2 separate regions of the Homo sapiens genome follow, and region 1 is linked to region 2. The links are contacts of gene promoters, found by promoter capture Hi-C in blood cells and fetal thymus (Javierre and others, 2016). All regions are on one chromosome and are shown on one strand. The core of a region is centred on a gene start or on the middle of the fragment in contact, and the rest is flanking DNA. Distances in the headings are between cores, read along the strand shown. Region 1 has its middle 36 kb from the start of KDM2B. Region 2 holds the start of KDM2B (lysine demethylase 2B).

Region 1 (3,190 bases), core at 619-3,118, 36 kb before region 2:
ATTTGTCTACTCTCATGCCAATAGATACTGTGTTGATTACTCTAGGTTTAAAGTAAATCTTGGGGGCAGGGCGTGGTGGCTCACACCTGTAACCCCAGTACTTTGGGGGGGCCAAGGTGGGCGGATCACTTGAGGTCAGGAGTTTGAGACCAGTCTGACCAACATGGTGAAACCTCATCTCTACTAAAAATACAAAAATTAGCTGGGCATGGTGGCCCGCACCTGTAGTCCCAGCTATTTGGGAGGCTAAGGCAGGAGAACCCTTGAACCCGGGAGACGGAGGTAGCAGTGAGCCGAGGTCACGCCACTGCACTCCATACTGGGCGACAGAGTAAGACTCCGTCTCAAAAGTAAATAAATTGGCCGGGCGCAGTGGCTCATGCCTGTAATCCCAGCACTTTGGGAGGCCGAGGCGGGCCGATCACAAGGTCAGGAGATCGAGACCATCCTGGCTAACACGGTGAAACCTCATCTCTACTAAAAATACAAAAAATTAGCCAGGCGTGGTGGCAGGCGCCTGTAGTCCCAGCTACTCTGGAGGCTGAGGCAGGAGAATGGCATGAACCCGGGAGGCAGAGCTTGTAGTGAGCTGAGATCGCGCCATTGCACTCTAGCCTGGGTGACAGAGTGAGACTCCATCTCAAAAAAAAAAAAAAAAGTAAATAAATTAATAAATAAATAAATAAAAATAAAATAAGTCTTGGGGAAAAAAAACCCCATAAATTCCTCAAAATTAAAAAAAAAAAAGTCTCGGCCGGGCATGGTGGTTCACGCCTGTAATCCCAGCACTTTGGGAGGCCGAGGCGGGCGGATCACGAGGTTAGGAGTTTGAGACCAGCCTGGTCAACGCAGTGAAATCCTGTCTCTACTAAACATACAAAAATTAGCCGGATGTGGTGGCACGCACCTGTAGTCCCAGCTACTCGGGAGGCTGAGGCAGGAGAATTGCTTGAACCTGGGAGGTGGAGGTTGCAGTGAGCCGAGACGGGGCCACTACACTTCAGCCTGGGTGACAGAGCAAGACCCTGTCTCAAAAAAAAAAGTCTCTTTTTTAAGACAGAGTCTCTCTCTATTGCCCAGGCTGGAGTGCAATGGCACGTTCTGGGCTCACTGCAACCTCGGCTCCCGGGTTCAAGCGATTCTCCTGCTTCAGCCTCCCGAGTAGCTAGGATTACAGGTGCCTGCTGCCACATCCAGCTAATTTTTGTATTTTTAGTAGAAACAGGGATTCGCCGTGTTGGCCAGGCTGGTCTGGAACTCCTGACCTCAGGTTATTCACCCACCTCAGCCTCCCAAAGTGCTGAGATTACAGACATGAGTCACCACGCCCGGCCTCAAAATAAGTCTTAAAGTCAGGTAGAGGTAAGACCTTCAACTTGTTCCCTCCCTCCCTTCCTCCCTTCCTTCCTTCCTTCTTTTTTTTTCACAGGGGTCTTGGTCTCTTGCCCAGACTGGAGTGCAGTGGCACAATCTCAGCCCACTATAACCTCTGCCTCCCGGGTGCAAGTGATCCTCTCAGCTCAGCCTCCCAAGTAGCTAGGGCTACAGGCCTGCATCACCACATCTGGCTAATTTTTGTGTTTTTTTTTTTTTTTTTTTTTTTGTAGAGACAGGGGGTCTTGCCACGTTGCCCAGGCTGGTCTTGAACTCCTGGGCTCAAGCGATCCGCTTGCCTCAGCCTCCCAAAGTGCTGGGATTAAAGGCTAGAGCCACTGTGACCAGCTTCTTTTTTGTTGTTGTTGTTTTGAGATGAAGTTTCATTCTGTTGCCTAGACTGGAGTCCAGAGGCACGATTATGGCTCACTGCAGCCTTGACCTCCTGGGTTCAAGTGACCCTCCCACCTCAGCCTGCCAAGTAGCTGAGACTACATGCACACACCACCACACCTGGCTAATTTTTTATTATTTATAAAGATGGGATCTAATATGTTGCCTAGGCCAGTCTCAAAACTCCTGGACACAAGCGATCCTCCTGCCATGGCCTCCCAAAATGCTGGGATTACAGGCGTGAGCTAACCTACCCAGCCTAGTTCTCTTTTTCTTTTCTTTTCTTTCTTTCTTTTTTTTTTTTTTTTTTTGAGACGGAGTTTTGCTCTTGTTGCCCAGGCTGGAGCGCAATGGCATGATCTCAGCTCACTGCAACCTCCACCTCCTGGATTCAAGTGATTCTCCTGCCTCAGCCTCCCGAGTAGCTGGGATTACAGGCATGCACCACCACGCCCGGGTAATTTTTACATTTTTAGTAGAGACGAGGTTTCTACATGTTGGTCAGGCTGGTCTTGAACTCGTGACCTCAGGTGATCCACCCACCTCAGCCTCCCAAAGTGCTGGATTACAGGCATGAGCCACCACGCCTAGTCTAGTTCTCCTTTTTCAAAACTGAATTTGCTGTACAGAATGTTGGGGTAAATTTTGTCAATACACATATGCCTTGGAGAATCACTATATCCCTTAACTTGGTGGGTGTCAGCAGGATCATTTTCCTGGACGGTCTGACATCCTCTATTAGCAAAGCAGGCCACACTGCAGAGATCAGACACATGAGATCAGGTTGGACTCTTAAAGGTTAAACTGTGTCCCCCCAAAAAAGACATTGCAGTCCTAAACCTCAGTACCTCAGAATGTGACCTCATTTGGGGCTGGGCGCAGTGGCTCACGCCTGTAATTTCAACACCTTGGGAGACTGAGGCAGGCGGATCACCTGAGGTCAGGAGTTCAAGACCAGCCTGGCAAACATGGTGAAACCCCATCTCTACTGAAAATACAAAAAGTAGCCAGGAGGTGGAGGTTGCAGTGAGCCAAGATTGCGCCATTGCACTGCAGCCCGGCAGACAAGAGTGAAACTCCACCTCAAAAAGAAGAATGTGGCCGGCTGGGCACGATGGCTCACGCCTGTAATCCCAGCACTTTGGGAGGCCGAGGCAGGCGGATCACGAGGTCAGGAGATCGAGACCATCCTGGCTAACACGGTGAAACCCCCGTCTCTAATGAAAAAAATACAAAAAATTAGCCAGGCATGGTGGCAGGTGCTTGTAGTCCCAGCTACTCGGGAGGCTGAGGCAGGAGAATGGCGTGAACCTGGAAGGCAGAACTTGCAGTGAGCCGAGATCACGCCACTGCACTCCAGCCTGGGTGACAGAGCGAGACTCCGTCTCAAAAAAAAACAAAAGAAGAAGACTGTGGCCAGGCA
Region 2 (3,009 bases), core at 496-2,995:
ACTTAGGACCCGGCAGCAGGGCAGGCATTCTGGGGGAGGCCAAGGGGAACAAACCCCCGGCTGGCCCATTCTTTTCTCGTGTTTGCGGTTTCCTCGAGGTTTGTAAAGGGGGGGGATTAAATGAGGTGACTACCCAGCCCCTTCCCACTCTGACAGGCCAGGAACTCCTCGTGGAGGTGATAGATGGACTTAACTGTTTTTATACTAAGGTGGCTGCCATTGGACCTTTTTCTGATGCCAGCTTTTGGGGCCACTATGAGGCCACTTGGAGAGAAAGAAGGGCCTCAGGGAGAAAAAAGAATTAATTAGATGAAGCATTCTATTATATATTTTTTGCTTTATTTCACTTAATTCACTTTGCGTCACTCTCCAGCCCATGCAGCCTCCTTTGAACATGTTTATTTCATTATGGGGCAGTAGTGAGGCTGGTAAGTTACTAAAAAAAAAAAAAAAAAAAAAAAAAGCACGTGATGGCCAAGCCAGGCTCCAGTGTGAGCCCTGGCAGCGGCACATACGCGCTATGTGATCCTGGGTGAGTGGCTTTGCTTTTCTTAGTCCTAATTTCCTCCTTTGCAAAATGGGAACGAACAAGACGATTTCCCTTAAAGGGTTCTTGTGAGAAAGACAGGAACAAATAAAATGGTCCATGGTTCTGGACGGACTGAAGGCAGAACCGGCAGCACTCACACGAAGGGCTACTGATTGCACGCAGCAGCCAACGTGGGCGATTTCAGTTTGGAAACAAATTTTGATGTTTCCCAGCCTCATCCCTGCTTAAAAGATTTTTACAGCTAGTGAACATGAATGAAAACAAACTTCAAAGAGTAGCCTTTGAGGATGGGTGGGAAAGACTACAGTCAGATAGGACAGGAAACTTCTAAGGTGAGTGAGGGGGAAGCTGTCTCTTAGGACGGCCAATACGATGCTGATAGTGACATCGTATCTCCTGGTGGGGAAGCCACGTCCTCCCCACAGGTCTGTCTGATAGCCTGGGGACCATATGGGAGCACAGCAATCATTCAGATTCATAATTTCTCTGAGCTTCAGTTTCCCTATCTGCAAAATGACCTGCTCCAAGTATCCCACAGGGTTATGGCAGAAATAAAATGTCAGGCTCAAAGCCTGCTATCTACAATGTCCCTTTATCGTCTCCCTCTTGCCATGTCATTTTATCAGCATCTTTACCCGCAAGATCAGGCCTAGCAGGGCGCCACAGCTGGGGCTGGAGGAATGTTTAGGGCTAGCTTTTCTCAAGCCAAGTCGACCTGACTGTTGCTCATGATGGGAGGACAAGACAACCCAGGACCAGTGCTGGGGTAGTCAAAAACACTAGTAAGTGGACAGGGACCTAATGACACCCATGTATGTACGGAGGGTGCCGATACCTCCGCTAAGAAGCCCTGTAGGGGCTTCATCAAGGGCACTAGAGTTCCCCCCACCTATCCCAGAGCACCATGCACCTTTCCACCGACTTGTCTTCTATAAACTACCAACAAGGGCTTACCCTTCGCTCCTGTGCGGGCTGCGTTAGGAGGCGCCAGATCCAATTCTCTGCGTCTTTCGCTCCTGAGCATCTATCTGCTCCCCTTGCCGAGCGCAAGAACCTTTAAAAAATGTCCAACTTCTGTTTCAGGGCTGGTCGCCTAGTAAAGGAGTCCACAGAGGCGGGCAGAATGAATGAATGAAAGGCAACGTCTTCCGGTCAGCTGCGGACTGCAAAGGCTCTGGTCTGGCTGTATTTCCTGTACGTGTGTGTGTCCACATCTTTGAGTGCCGGGAGTTTAAAAGTTAGGCAGTCCTTATAGGTATGGAAGCCGAGCTAATTTCCTTCTGAGCCCCCCAAATGCCTCCTCCACATGGCGGGTCCGCAAATGGGGGGATCTGCAGAGGATCACCCCCCACGAAAAAGACATGCAGCAGAAAAGCAAAAAAAGAAAACAGTTATATATACAAAATGCTTTGAATTTGAGTCGGCCACACAGGTAATGTTGGGGGAGGGGTGGATGAAAGAAGAGGAAGAGGGGTAGCCCTGGGCAATGAGGGCAGGAACGGAGGTGGGGGGTCGTTTTTGGGGGTGCCAGGCCCCGGGGGCTTTCACGCCAGCATGCTCGGCTTGCATTTCCGCGCCTCCCGCTGAGGCCAGCCGTGCAAATCTGCACCTCCCTCCCCGCCCCCTCCTCCTTCCCTCCCTCCCTGCCCCGCCATCTCCGGGATGCGCCCGCCGCCTGCAACTCGGCCCTCCAAAAGTCAGCTCTGCACACAACTCCCGGGCGGCGGCGGCGCCTGCGTGCAGAGGCGCACTCGTGACCCAACAACAAAACAGCGATGCCACGGCGCTAACGGCGCCCGGTGCCTCCCGGGCTCCCTCCCCGCCCCATACCTCCTCGGGCCGCCGCCCCCACCCCCCCAAGCCCGGGCCGAGAGCCCCCCCAAATAGCCCGGCCGCGGGCTCCGAGCGCGATCGGCAACAATGTTTACGTTCCGGGGATTATGACGTCGACGCCTCCCCCCCCCCACAACTGCTGAAAATGGTTTCCTAGGACTTTGCAAACGGATCTGCCTAAGTGTTGGTGCAAAACTTTGTAGATCTCGGCTCTGGCTTGCTTTATTTATTTATTTTTTGGTTTGTTTTCTTTGGTCTTCCCTCCTTCCCCCCTCGGCCAAAATGCAGGGGGCAGGAGTGTTGACAATTAATTGGTGAACTCTCCTAAAAAAATGGAGGCAGAGAAAGACTCTGGAAGAAGATTGGTGTGTAGCTTTTTTTTTTTTTTTTTTTTTCCAAATCTGTATCTGGCATATGATAGATCTTTTTTTTTTTTTTTTTGGTTGTTTCTCGCTGCCTTTTCTTTCCTTTTCTGTATTTTGCAAGAGGACCGGGAAAAAAATATAATAAATTGCATGCAAAAGGAAGCAAGCTGCTTACTCCTCCAGCCCCTTGTGAGGCTTAGAGTCTCAGACACTTAAGTGGGGAGGTGGTATCGGGGAAAGGCGTGGAGGGGGGCTGAGCGG

Evidence for each region. Contacts are between HindIII fragments. The CHiCAGO score rates a contact against its expected background, and 5 or more counts as called.
Region 1: a fragment that was not itself captured here is called in contact with the fragment with the promoter of KDM2B in region 2 in 2 of 17 cell types (naive B cells and total B cells); the score reaches 5.4 in naive B cells.

Annotation. Positions count from the first base shown.
Region 1 is chr12:121,615,571-121,618,760 of GRCh38, reverse strand. No RefSeq gene overlaps it. Among named protein-coding and RNA genes, the nearest start is that of KDM2B, 36 kb to the right of the region's middle. The HindIII fragment of the contact is 3,928 bases long and covers 1-3,190 here.
Region 2 is chr12:121,579,759-121,582,767 of GRCh38, reverse strand. It overlaps KDM2B (lysine demethylase 2B), which reads left to right and starts at 1,745. Exons shown (of 23, transcript NM_032590.5): 1 at 1,745-1,982. The coding sequence starts at 1,857. KDM2B-DT (KDM2B divergent transcript) reads right to left here and starts at 2,257. Exons shown (of 4, transcript NR_183427.1): 1 at 1,505-2,257. RefSeq lists enhancers at 1-584, 1,520-2,455 and silencers at 2,025-2,074, 2,155-2,464. The HindIII fragment of the contact is 12,326 bases long and covers 1-3,009 here.